Linked DNA regions of Homo sapiens: all the other regions are linked to region 2. The links are contacts of gene promoters, found by promoter capture Hi-C in blood cells and fetal thymus (Javierre and others, 2016). All regions are on one chromosome and are shown on one strand. The core of a region is centred on a gene start or on the middle of the fragment in contact, and the rest is flanking DNA. Distances in the headings are between cores, read along the strand shown. Region 1 overlaps POLR1B (RNA polymerase I subunit B). Region 2 holds the start of MERTK (MER proto-oncogene, tyrosine kinase). Region 3 has its middle 20 kb from the start of RGPD8.

Region 1 (4,344 bases), core at 1,318-3,817, 650 kb before region 2:
AAGAAAGCAATTTCTGGCATAAACTTTATTAGGCACCCGCCCTACTCCCAAATATGTGCAGTGTTGAGAGTCACACAGTATCACTAGTACTCACTGTCAACTTCCCACGGTAGGTACTCCTTCGGCCCCGGCATTCTGCTGGATAAACATTGGCCTCTTTGCAGATGGTCCCTTTTGGAACTGTAGGTGGACTGATAACAGCATCCAGAATAGTAAAAGAGATACGCTCATCTTTGAAAGCAAATTCAAAGGGAGGTATAGCCTGAAATGCAATTCACACTATTAAATTGCTTGCATTTCCAAGGCATTTTTTCTCTAAGACTCTTCCAAATCTTATGTGTTCTACAAACATTGATGCCTGTGATGCCACCATGACACACCTAAAAAGGACAGTTAAGGCTACCTCCAGTTGGCCGGGCGCAGTGGTTCACGCCTGTAATCTCAGCACTTTGGGAGGCCGAGGTGGGAGGATCACAAGGTCAGGAGATCGAGACCATCCTGGCTAACACGGTGAAACCCCATCTCTACTAAAAATACAAAAAAAATTAGCCAGGCGTGGTGGTGGGCGCCTGTAGTCCCAGCTACTCGGGAGGCTGAGGCAGGAGAATGGCGTGAACCCGGGAGGCAGAGCCTGCAGTGAGCAGAGATCACGCCACTGCACTCCAGCCTGGGCGACAGAGCGAGACTCCGTCTCAAAAAAAAAAAAAAAAAAAAAAAAAAAAAAAAAAAGCTACCTCCAGTCTACTCATAACTTCACTAAATACTTAAAACCACAAAGCATTATTAGTACAAGATTGTTTTGAGTGACCACATGTGTCAGAGACTGTAGTAGGCTCTAGGGATACAGCTGTGAACAGAACAAAATTCCTGTTCTCTGAACCAAGAGCCTTGTGTATTCTTAACTTGTCTATGTGCATAGCAAGACAAATGGGACTACTGCTAATAGAGCAAGGATACGGAAACATCCTTTAGGATTTAAGACTAGATGCTTAATGTACAATGGCAACGTCAAACTGAAGCCAGAGCCATGCAAAGGAAAAGATGGTGGCCAGGCTGGGTTTCCCCTTCCACAGAAGTTACTTCTTTGTACCATTCTGTAGGGGAAGCTTTGCTGTTCTGAGGAAGGGGCATCACCAAGCTCTCCTATATATTAATTACAAGCAACCTCCTAGACTTAGTCTTAGAATAATGAAAATGAAAAAATGGAACCAAGAAAGAATACCAAGGAGGTTCTCCACCTTCACGTGAGTTAACTTACCTTTTCTAAATTTTAAAATGTTATCTAAAGCTGGTATTATTTTAGAAATTCATATTTTATTTAAAAATAAAAGCCAGATGCAGTGGCTTATACCTGTAATCCCAATATTTGGGAGACCGAGAGAGGAGGACTACTTGAGCTCAGGAGTTTGAGACCAGGCTGGGCCACATAGGGAGACCCCGTCTCTACAAAAAATAAAAATAAAAAAATTAGCCGGGCATAGTGGTGCACGCCTGTGGTCCCAGCTACTCAAGAGGTTGACGTGGGAGGATCACTTGATCCTGGAAGGTCGAGGCTGCAGTGAGCTATAACCATGCCACTGCATTCCAGCCTAGGTGACAAAGTGAGATCCTGTCTCAAAAAAAAAAACAGAATGAAGTTAAAAAAAGAGAGATTAGACAATTTGCTTTCTCAAGACGCAGCTGCACTATTTAGAAGGAAATACAGTGAACTGTCATTATTCATAATAGTTATGTTCTATACAGTTGCCATAAACACTGAATTAGCCAATACTGAACCACTGCTCCTAGGGTAAATACATGGTTAGCTTCCTGCGAGCCTCTGGTCACATTTCATCAACTGATCAACACACAATCTTGTATTATGTGTGTTTCTGTTTAAGGACAGCTTATTTAATACATATTATTGAGTCCGTAACTCATGCCTGAACAAAGCCTATGATTTCATCCACTGATCAATACACAACCTTGCATTATGTGGGTTTCTGTTTAAGGACAGCTTATCTAATATATATTATTGAGTCCCTAACGCATGCCTGAACAAAGCCTATGTTAAATGCATGTATTAATATTTTCCCCTAAAGGCACAGCACAGCCTTCTTGTGCTTAGGAACTTTATACAGAACTTTAATACTTTAATACTTTGCTTGGGGGACATTTTAAACAGCAAAATCACCAACAAAAAGCACAAAACACGGCACTAAATAGATAGTGAAGACAACCTCTGTTTATAGTTTAAGAACTTAAAACAAGAAGGCCGAGCATCACCTTGTTAGATCTCAGCTGGGAAAATGGACACTGAGCAACTCAACTTTTTTGCTGCTTCTGGGCATGGTGCTTTTGGAGTAGAAGTAAATTTTAGTGAGTAGGTGAATTTGCAAATATGGAATCCCCAAGTAATAAAAATCAATTGTATTTTGAAAAGACAGACACATAAATTCTGACTCACAGAAAGGAGGAATTCACTCCAAAGAAACTTGGCAAAATTATGTTTTGTAAGTAAAAAATATGATAACTATTTTTTCCCTTGGCTTTATAAGTATTAGTTATTTATGTTACTGTGTTTTACAGAACTTTTTCAAATACTATATTATTATAGTCCTAGCTAAGTTGTGGCATCATTTTCTATGCAGGGCCAAATTTTCTTCATCTACTTCAACCAAAACAATTATCACAAGGGACTGAATGCACAAGCAGACATGAGAATCCAGCTGTCTTTTCATTAAGCCAGACATTAAAAAGATTTTTAATAATGCAATTCATCTAACTTCTTTTTTGCTTTGGAAAATATTTTTCTTAAAAATGTTAACATATAATTGGTTTATTTATTTATGTATTTATTTTTTTGGGAGAGTCTCACTCTGTCACCCAGGCTGGAATGCAGTGGTGCAATCTTGGCTCACTGCAACCTCCGCCTCCCAGGTTCAAGCGATTCTCGTGCCTCAGCCTCCTGAGTAGCTGGGATTACAGACATGTGCCACCATGCCCGGCTAATTTTTGTATTTTTTAGTAGAGATGGGGTTTCACCAGGTTGGCCAGGCTGGTCTGGAACTCCTGACCTCAAGTGATCCACCCGCCTTGACCTCCCAAAGTGCAGGGATTACAGTCAAGAGCCACCACACCCAGCCGACTGGCTTATTTTTAAATTAGTGCTTTTCTAAAATTTCTCAATTGGATTTTTTTTTTTTAAAGACAGGTCTCACTCTGTTACCGAGGATGGAGTGCAGCGGCACAATCATAGCTCATTGCAGCCTCAAATTCCTGGGTTCAACTTATCCTCCCACCTCAGCCTCCCGAGTAGCTGGGACCAGCTACTTGGGTGCGCACCACCATGCCCCACTAATTTTTAAATTTTTGTGGAGATGGGGTTTCACTATGTTATCCAAGCTGGTCTTGAAATCCTGGGCTCAAGTCATCCTTCTGCCTTGGCCTCCCAAAGTCCTGGATTACAGGTGTGAGCCACTGCACCCAGCCCGATTAACTTTTAATTAGGAATTTTTTCTCACAGACATGATACTGTAACAATCCAGGCACAATACAAATAACCCCCACCCCTCTAGTCTTTCTAAACAATAAATCTTAATGGCTCCCATATTATTTGCCGAATAGAGTTCAAGAATCAGACTGGCAATCAAAGCTCTCCACATTATCTGTATCCCTATCTCCCACAACACAAATCTTACCCAACAAAACCACAGGTAGGGTCCCCGAAGCATGTGACTCTGCTCTACTCTTCCCCTGGACGAAATGCACGTTTCTCACTTCTTGAACTCATCTAATCCTGCCCTTTCTCAAACTCCTGGATTAGTTGCGCCGCCCATAGGCTCCCGCAGTAGCCCACACAATCCCTTGGCAGAGCAGTTCTCAAGAACATTGGCATGCACTGCTTTCATTATCTTCACCCCTTCAACCCCCAAACACGACAGGGAGCACTTAAATGCATGAACTGTCTCGTACACGGGACTGCCTCCTCCACATCCTCTGAGCCTAGTGCCTGGAGACACTGGGGATGCTTACTAAACGAAGCTTTCCCCCACCATACTCACTTGAATTCTGCTACCATTACTCTACGCTAATAATGCAATTACACTTTTCGATTCAATCTTGCTTTCATGACTCATTTATACCTTCCTCGGCACCTGCTTAATTCATAACAAATGACGAGTAGTTTCTCTCTTTAAAGCTCTAAGAGAAGGAAACTGAAGGATAACCTTGAACATTACACTGTACCTACAAATACGTTCGGGATCTTTCGAGGTACGTTTTGGAGAGGTAAGTCTTCAAGTGATATAAAGCCGTGTGCATTGTGAAGCACATCCCCAGATAAGCCACTTCCTCACTCTCACA
Region 2 (4,726 bases), core at 2,227-4,726:
AGAAACCCTGTCTCTACCAAAAATACAAAATTAGCCAGGCGTGGTGGTGCATGCCTGTAATCCCAGCTACTCAGGAGGCTGAGGCAGGAGAACTGCTTGAACCCGGGAGGCGGGAAGTTGCGGTGAGCCGAGATTGTGCCATTGCACTCTAGCCTGGACAGCAAGAGTGAAACTCTATCTCAAAAACAAAAAAACATAATTATTGTTAATTTTTTAAAAATTGTATTCAGCTGTGCATGGTGGCTCATGCCTATAATCCCCACACTCTGAGAGGCTAAGGTGGGAAGATCGCTTGAGCCCAGGAGTTCAAGACCAGCCTGGGCAACATAGTGAGATCCTGTCTCTACAAAAAATAAAAAATTAGCCAGGCATGGTGGTATGTGCCTGTGGTCATAGCTACTTGGGAGGCTGAGGTGGGAGGATCACTTGAGCCCGGAAGGTTGAGGTTGCAGTGAGCCGTGATGGTGCCACTGCACTCTAGCCTGGGTGGCAGAATGAGAACCTGCCAAAAAAAAAAAAAAAAGAAAGAAAGAAAAGAAAAGAATTCCACTCAGCACTTTAATGGGTCAGAATAATTTTCTAAAAGTATTCATTTTTAAAATATGCACGATGTACTTTCAAAAAGCATTTGAAGCCTTTGGAATAAAGCCCACAAGCAACAGAACAACTTAAAAGTTCCCTCTGGGAAGATGTTTACAATATACTGGAATACATGTTACAATATCAGTTTGGAAAAGAAATATTAACATTAAAGAATCTTAAAAGCCTAATTTACTCTAAGGGTTGAGTTTAGCTGCACACACAGCCTCGTCATGAGCTAAGTCCTCATAATGCATTCATTTTTATCCACATTTATATTTATCTTGCTCCATCCTCTCCCTGGCCCTTCAGAGAGCCACCGCTTGCCTCATTTTGCTGCTCAATGGCACCCCCATCAGAGACTGAGCAGAAAGGAAAGACTGGAAAGCCTCGAAATGCTCCTGGTTTGGCAGTTCCAGTTCTGTGTGTGCATGTCTTTGTGAGACGTGTAGTGTGTATGTGTGTTGGGGGGCAGAGGGGATTTCCTGGGTTAAAGTGATGCTTAAATTTTATTTACCCATTCTTCTATACTGCTAACAGTGTAGAATCTACACACATATTCTCATTGTCTCTCTCTCTGTCTCCCCTGTGTGGTCAGCAAAGCACTCAGACCCACAATGTGTAATAGGAAAATCTTAAAATTAGATGAAGAGTCTAATTTCCATGTTTAATTTCTTCATACAGCACTCCTTTGTGCTGTAATTCTGCCAGTGAGAATCCCATTCTTTAAGCTTTTCACAAGGTGAGATGTAAAACTGTCACACATCTCATAGGTAAAGTTCAAAACCAAAAGCAAAAAGTGCAAGAACGATTGGTGAAACTTTTCATTCTTCCAGCTGGGTGGATTTTAAAAGGCCTTTTTATGATTGTCTGATTAAAGTTGATTGTCAGCTACAAAAATTTGTTATTACAGCCTTTTAAAATTTTAGAAAAACAAAAGCACTCCAATTTTTAAGTATTTAACACAAAACTATTGTTCCCATTACTTTCTCCATAGTTCTCACCACATTCACTACCTCCAAGACTATTCACGGCCAGTCCTCACTAGTAGCAACAAATAACAGATTTGCAGCAGATTATGAAAAATGGGGCTGGCAGAAATGCTGAGGAATTTTTGAAGGTTTGGTGGAGGGAGGGGCAGTGGAGAACAGAACTGCTTTAGTTCTTTGCCTGGCTCTTAAAGTTTGTTTCAAATTGCTATGTTGCCCCAAATTATAAATTGCTTATGTAATTTAACGTGCAAAAAGTGGGTGCACTGTTTAAGAATTTTTCATTTGAGTAAATGAGCTTTCAAAGGAAAATCTCAAAGGAAAAACTTTTAAGTAACTTACTTGACTATAAACTGAGCTTTCCAGGTATTCCTAAAAAACATCTTTGACTGTAATAGGTGAAGGCTAGTCAAGTGCATTCTCGATCAAAAGAGAGAAAATCTACATGCTGAATGGAAATAGAAACCTTTTAGCTGAGAGAAAATACTTGGAATGTGTTTATTTAGCATTTTTCCCCTTTCTTTTTCTTTTGGGTAAAGCCTGGTAAGTTTATTCCAGCCTCCTCAAGAAGTGCATCAGCGATCAAACTTGAAATCTGTTCATCACTCACTCCCCAAATAAGCTGTTCAAGCAGAATGAAACCGGCCTTCCTTGCCTCCACGTATCAGTCCAGCATCTTGTATTAAAATGCCTGGAACAAGCCGGGCGCGGTGGCTCACGACTGTAATCCCAGAACTTTGGGAGGCCAAGGAGAGCAGATCACGAGGTCAAGAGATCGAGACCATCCTGGCCAACATGGTGAAACCCCGTCTCTACTAAAAATACAAAAATTAGCCGGACGTGGTAGCGCGCGTCTATAGTCTCAGCTACTCGGGAGGCTGAGGCAGGAGAATCGCTTGAACCCGGGAGGCGGAGCCTGCAGTGAGCCGAGATCGCGCCGCGGCACTCCAGCCTGGGCGACAGGGCGAGACTCGGTCTCAAATTAAAAAAAAAAAAGCCTGTAACAACACTTCGCTGAATCCAGATAAACGTAAACGCTGCCGAGCACTGTAAGTTCTGTTCTGCCATAACAGGAGTGAAAAGAACGCTCCCCTTTTCCCACACTCTCTGGGTGCCCCTAAAAAGGGATACTAATAATGCCCGTAAGGGCCCATTGGGAGCAGCCAGGACTGCCGTCCCCCCCTGGCCCGTCGCTCGGCCTCAGTCTATCGCGGCTCCCGGACTGCGGCTCCGACTCCCGCAGCCCGTTCGTTCGCCCCGCGCCGGTCCCTCGGGAGACCGGATCTGTGGCCCCCGGGACTCCGGCCAGAGCGGGGCCCCACCATGCAACTCTAGTGGAAAGTTCTCGTCGCATCCCAGACCAGACCTGCTACCTACGTTCCACTCGTCGGAACTTCAGGACTTGCAGCGCGCCCGGCCGAGCTCGATTTCCTCCTCTGCGGTGAAGAGGGGAGCCTGCAACGCCGACCCCGACCCGGCTTCACCACGATGCGCACCCGCAAGCCAGGCTGGGTGCCCTCGGGACGCTTGAGGCGCCGCGGTCAGTGGACGGTAGGTTCGCCTACGCCCCCTCCTCTGGCACCGCAGTGGGTGGAGGGTGTTTGCAAACTTGTCCAGCAGCCAGGCGCGCCCCTGTGGACGCGCTCCCTCCCCAGAGGCCCCTGCTTCCTCCTGGGAGCCCCCACCCCCTCGCCTGGCCCCCAGCCGGGCGCACTCACCTCTACGCCAGAGCGCGGGGAGGAAGAGGCCCAGCAGCAGCGGCAGCGGGGCCGGCCCCATCCCGGGGCTGCGGATCTGTAATTTCTCTCCGGACGGATGGACAGATGGACGTCCCGAACCTGTCCTGTCGCCGGCCAAGCGCGCCAGCGAAGCTCCCTGTCCGGGCGGCCCGGGCAGTGAGTGCCGAGTGGCGGAGCCAAGCGGCCGGCGGGAGGTGCCGAGGGCTGGAAGGGGCGGGCCGGGGGCCGAGCCGAGGCCGGCCGGGGCTGGAGGAGAGGAGCGGGCAGGGGGGCGAGTCCCGGCGGGCCCAGCAGGTTGGGGTGGGAGGGGGCGGGAGGACGAGGGGGAGGAGGGGCGTAAAGGGGAAAGGGAGGGGGTTGGAGAGAAGGGGCGGGCCGAAGGCCGCCGCTGGGCAGACGGCGGGGAAGGGGGCGGAGAGGAAGGGGAGGGGGCTGAGAGACCCGGAGGGAGCCGGAAAGAGAAGTGAAGGGGAGGGGTGGACTGGAGGTCCACAGCGGAAGGCTCTGGCCGCTGCGCGGGTCCGGGGCCCCACACGTGTGGGTGGGAGATGGGGAAGGACAGAAGGTGGGAGAGGAGTAGAGGATGCCCGAGGCAGCCCCCAGACCCAAGAGGAGGGTCCAGAGGCGCCCCCGCATTCCGGGCTTGGCTGACACAGAAAACCCTGGCCGCGCCGCTCCCAGAGGCCAAGGCCAGGGCGGCAGCGCTCCCTGCCGAGCGCTCCTCCACATCCATTCCGCTCGCCGCCGAGCGCCGCCTGGGTACCCGGCCCGAGGTGCGCGACACGGCCCTGGCGGCGAGGAGCTCACCTCCCCAGGGGGAGGGGTTCCTGGGAAAGGACGCTTTGCCGTGGCTCCGTGACGAGCCAGAGAGAGGTGACACTCAAGGAGGGAGATGAACGTGAATGACAAAGTGCAGAGCAGGAGTGGGGAGAGGGGGAACCACAGCACGTCACTCTCATGGGCCTCCACAAGGTGTGCAGGGTCCAAGAGGCAGTAGCAGAGAGTGAGTCGTAAGAGAAATGTAACTACTTACGCTAATAATGGCAACAGTAACTTAATTTATATACGTAGTTTCTTAAAGGTAACACTTTTAGAATGAATGTATTTTAATGTGGTCCCTTTAACAACATAACATAAGCCAAATCATGTCCCTCTCCTCAAATCTCCCTAAACCTATCAGTGGTTCCTGCTGTCTCTGCGTACGTAAGCCAAGGTTCTGCAGTGGTCTACGAGGTTCTACGTGACCTGGTCCCCTTTCCTCTTTGGCCTCATCTCCTTACGCCTCTTCAATTTACGTTGGTCTCGTCAAGCGGTCCCTTGACCCCTACACTGGCTGGACACTTCCCGTAGATTTGGCTACGGGAAGGAGACAGGCAGCCCAGATGGGTTTAGACAGGTTATTACTTACACCGACAGCAA
Region 3 (4,339 bases), core at 1,796-4,295, 550 kb before region 2:
CTACTGAGAAATTGAAATACACACACAAACACATGAAATCAAAGAACATACAGAAGGCTGAAACCAGCTACTCCAGTAATGGAGACTCACAATCCCTTGCATTATATGCGTGTGTATGTTTTAAGGCCACACAGTTGGAATCAGATAGCTAAAAAAGTCAGTTGAATAGCAGTTTACCAAACCAGGATGGGAAAGTTTCCCTGATAAGAGTTCATGAATAGCCTGGATGAGAGGTTCATTTTTGGGTGTGTATCATCCAAACGAAGGGAAGTTGCACTGGGCTAATGAGGTGATTGGAGGTGTGTGAGATTGGAAGCTGATCTTGGGGGACTGCTTTTTGCCTTGGAGGCAGAACTAACCAAGACGTGGTCATAAATCTGTGCTCACTTCAGCCAGTGATGTCTTGAGACTGATTATCTTTTACTTTTTGGAGAGCAGTCCCTTTATTTGTGATGCTTCTGAGATGTAAAGTCAATGACGTTGCTGCTTAGCTAAAGAGTTTTTTATTAGTTTGTTCTGGCTAATTAATATGATTAGGGAGTTAAAAATTTGCAGAATTTATTTTTTTCTTTCTCTAGAGAAAGATGACAAAATTATTTTAAATAGTAGACCCTCTGATTTTGTGTGTCATCTCAAACATACTATATATAATAAATTATCTGGCACCTAGAATTCTATTGTAATAAGGTCTGTTGTTTTGTCTGCTTGGTACCCTCCTTCTGCAACAAAGCCCTGATTTTCAGTGTAGAATCATCCTCCCTGACTTTTAGCAGTTATGGTTAGTGGGACCACACCCAATGCTGGATGCAGGGCTGGGCACATAGAAGATACCTAGCCAGTCAGCATGTTCTCTCCCTGAGGCTAGTGCTCTTTCTCTACCCACATCCCTTCACCAGGTCAGTGCATCCATGCCCAGCTGCTGTGAGGCTTACCTGCTGATAATCATAGGTGCACCCCTTTTCTAAAGGATTGGCTGGATGTTTTGCTCACATCTATAATCCCAGCACTGTGAGAGGCTGTGGCAGGAGAATTGCTTGAGCCCAGGAGTTCAAGATCAGCCTGGCTACAAGGTCATTAACTAGAGTGGAATTTCAAAGCCTGATCTACCTCAGGATATGCTTGCCCTGCTGAGGGAGGGAGATGTTATATGTAAAGGAGCAGCAGGGCCTGAATAACAGGGATTAAGAGAACTGGTAGTGTGTACCTAGGAATAGATCTTAATGGCTAGGAGTCAAGGTTGGGTAGAAGGTGAGGCTGCATAAGGAAGCTGTTCATATTAGGTGTCAACTTGATTGGATTGAAGGACACCTAGATAGCTGGCATTGTTTCTGGGTGTGTCTGTGAGGGTATTGCCAGAGGAGACTGACATTTGAGTTGTTGGTTTGGGAGAGGAAGACCCACCCTCAGTGTGGGTGGGCACCATCCAATCTAGCTGCCAGGCTAGAATGAAGAAGGCAGAAAATAGGATAAGTTTGCTTGTTGAGTCTTCTGGCTTTCTTTCTTCTTCCCATGCCGGCCACTGGCTTCCACTCTTCCTGCCCTTGGACCTCAGACTCCAGTGGCTTCCTGAGAGCTCTTAGGCCTTTGGCCTCAGACTGAAGCTGCATTGTTGGCTTCCCTGGTTTTGAGGCCTTCTGACTTGGACTGAGCCACTACTGATTCTCTCTTTCCCCAGCTTGCAGACAGTCACCTTGTAATCATGTGAGGCAGTTTTCCCTAATAAACTCCTGTAGATAGATAGATAGATAGAGATATAGATATAGGAGAGAGATATATATACACACACATACATATATGTGATATATGATATATCACATATATCATATAGGATATATCTATATATCCTATACATCCTATACATCTATATATCCTATACATCCTATATATCCTATACAAATATATAGGATATATCTATGTATCCTAGGATATATAGATATATAGATACATATATATAGATATATAGATATATCCTAGGATACATAGATATATATCTATGTATCTATATATCCTATACATCCTATTTGATAGGATGTATAGGATATATATAGGATATATCCGTATATCCTATACATCCTATTTGTTCTCCCCCTCTGGAGAACTCCAATACAGAAGCCTTCTCAAGGTGGGGGCATCTTTTACATAACACAAGATTTAACACCTGCAATGAGCCCCACAAGAAAGCTCTAATATACCGCTGCAAAGCTTCAGAAGCTTGGAAAAATCAATGGCCCACATTAAATGAAGCAGAGATGCCAGAACTATGGACAAAGAGTTCAAAAAGACACTCCATTTATCAGAGCTAAGAAGGCACTGGTGGGAGGGCAGCAGCATCAATGAGAGGCACGGTAGCAAATGTCTTCTGAAGGTCAAGAAGAATGGTGGGGATGCTGTTACAGAACTGGACTTCCTGTTAGCAATGGGGAGCATAGGATCCCAGCACAGTAAGGGCCATATGACAGCTCCTAAATGTCAGGAGGAAGGTGAGCATCATTACTGTACTAGACAGCAAGGTTGGAATCACAGTCAGAAAGATGTCTCTTGTTTATGTAAACTTGTCTGGTAATATCAACATGATAATTTATTTAATAAGCTATCATTTTCTCATTAAATTGAAATACTGTGCCATTGTCTTACATTAAATTCTGAAATGTGCTTGATTTATCTCTGGATTCTGTAGTCTGAATATCCTTGGGTCAGTTCAATAGTGGGCTGATTGTAGTGTTTTTTTTAGGAGATTCAACTACCTAAAAATGATTAAGTATAGGAACTTACATAAGATAGGTTTATTTCTCTGAAAATCCAAAGCTGGCAGGATGTCCAAGTGATGTAGGCTGCTGCAACCTATGAGTTAATTCAAGGAGCCAAATTCTTTTTTGTTTTCGTAGCCATCCCTTAGGGTGTTACCTGCATAGTCTCACTATACCTATGTTCCAGCCCATGGTATGAGAGAAAAATGGGGGAGAGAAACAAAATCCTTTTTAAGGGCATAACCCCAAAGTCACATGACTTTATTCCATATGTGTGCCTTTAGTCAGAATGTAGTCACACTACCAATCTAGCTAAAAAGGAGTCCAGAGAACGTAATCTCTGACAGGTTGGCCTATTCTTAGATAAAACTAATGGGAAGAAGAGAAATGGACACAGGAAGTTGGTAATGAGCCTTCAAGATGGCCCCCAATAATCCCTGACACCTAGTATTTACAATCTTGTGTAGTCCCCTCCCATGTTACACTAAGTTTAATCTGTGTGTCCAACATCATAGGCAAGAGTGATAGCATGTCACGTCTGAGAATAGATTACAAAAAGACGACAGCCAGTCTTGAGATCTCTCTCTGACCACTTGCTCTGGGGGAAGCCAGTTGCTATGTTGTGAGGTAGCCCTGTGGAGAAACCTATATGGAAAGAACTGAGTGTCTGGCCTCCCAACAACCATACAGTGAGCTTGGAAGTGGATTCTCCAGCCTCAGTCAGGCCTTGAGATGTTGCAGCTCAGGCGGATAGCTTGACTACACCCTCGTGAGACACTCTGAGCCAGAACCACCCAGCTAAGCTGCAGGTGGATTCCTGATCCTCAGAAACTGAGGTAATAAATGCTTGTTATTTTAAGCTGCTATGTTTGAGGGTAATTATTACACACTCTGTTGCTGCATAACGAATTGCTCCAGAGCTTAGTGGCTTAAAACCCCTACGTTTATTAGCTCATAGATTCTTTGAGTCAGGAATCTGGACATAACGTAGCTGGATCCTTGGGCTCTGGTTGCAGTCAAGGTGTCAGCAGGGCTGCAGTTACCTTCAGGCTTGATTAGGGATAGATCAGCTTCCAAGCACTCTCACATGGTTGTTGGCCAGTTTCTACATGGGTTATTAGACTAAAGCTTCAATTCCTCAAAAGCTGTTGGCTGGAAGCCTCTCTTGGTTCCTTACTACATAGGCTTTTCCATTGGGCAGTTTACAACATGCCTGCTGGCCTCACTACAGTGAGCAAGAAAGAGGGTAAGAGATGGTAAGCAAGAAAAAAGCCACAGTCTTTTGTAACTTAATCTTTGAAGTAATATTGTCAGAGGTGTTTGAACCAGAGCGACTCCATATTGAATAGGGGCTGGGTAAAATTAGGCTGAGACCTATTGGGGTGCATTCCCAGGAGGTTAGGCATTCTTAGTCATAGGATGACATAGGAGATCAGCACAAAGTACAAAGACCTTGCTGATAAAACAGTTTGCAGTAAAGAAGCCAGCCAAAACCTACCAAACCCAAGATGGCAATGAAAGTGACCTCTGGTCATTCTCACTGCTCGTTATCCACGAATTATAATGCGTTAGCATGCTAGAAGACATTCCCA

What was found. Contacts are between HindIII fragments. The CHiCAGO score rates a contact against its expected background, and 5 or more counts as called.
Region 1: a fragment that was not itself captured here is called in contact with the fragment with the promoter of MERTK in region 2 in 1 of 17 cell types (megakaryocytes); the score reaches 6.3 in megakaryocytes.
Region 3: a contact is called between a fragment that was not itself captured here and the fragment with the promoter of MERTK in region 2, in 3 of 17 cell types (erythroblasts, endothelial precursors and megakaryocytes). The highest score is 5.9, in erythroblasts.

The regions. Positions count from the first base shown.
Region 1 is chr2:112,542,930-112,547,273 of GRCh38, reverse strand. POLR1B (RNA polymerase I subunit B) reads right to left here. Exons shown (of 15, transcript NM_019014.6): 2 at 95-262. Among named protein-coding and RNA genes, the nearest start is that of POLR1B, 2.6 kb to the right of the region's middle. The HindIII fragment of the contact is 2,917 bases long and covers 1,109-4,025 here.
Region 2 is chr2:111,897,357-111,902,082 of GRCh38, reverse strand. MERTK (MER proto-oncogene, tyrosine kinase) reads right to left here and starts at 3,476. Exons shown (of 19, transcript NM_006343.3): 1 at 3,287-3,476. The coding sequence starts at 3,347. RefSeq lists an enhancer at 4,008-4,337. The HindIII fragment of the contact is 4,607 bases long and covers 1,313-4,726 here.
Region 3 is chr2:112,451,254-112,455,592 of GRCh38, reverse strand. No RefSeq gene overlaps it. Among named protein-coding and RNA genes, the nearest start is that of RGPD8, 20 kb to the right of the region's middle. The HindIII fragment of the contact is 1,664 bases long and covers 2,214-3,877 here.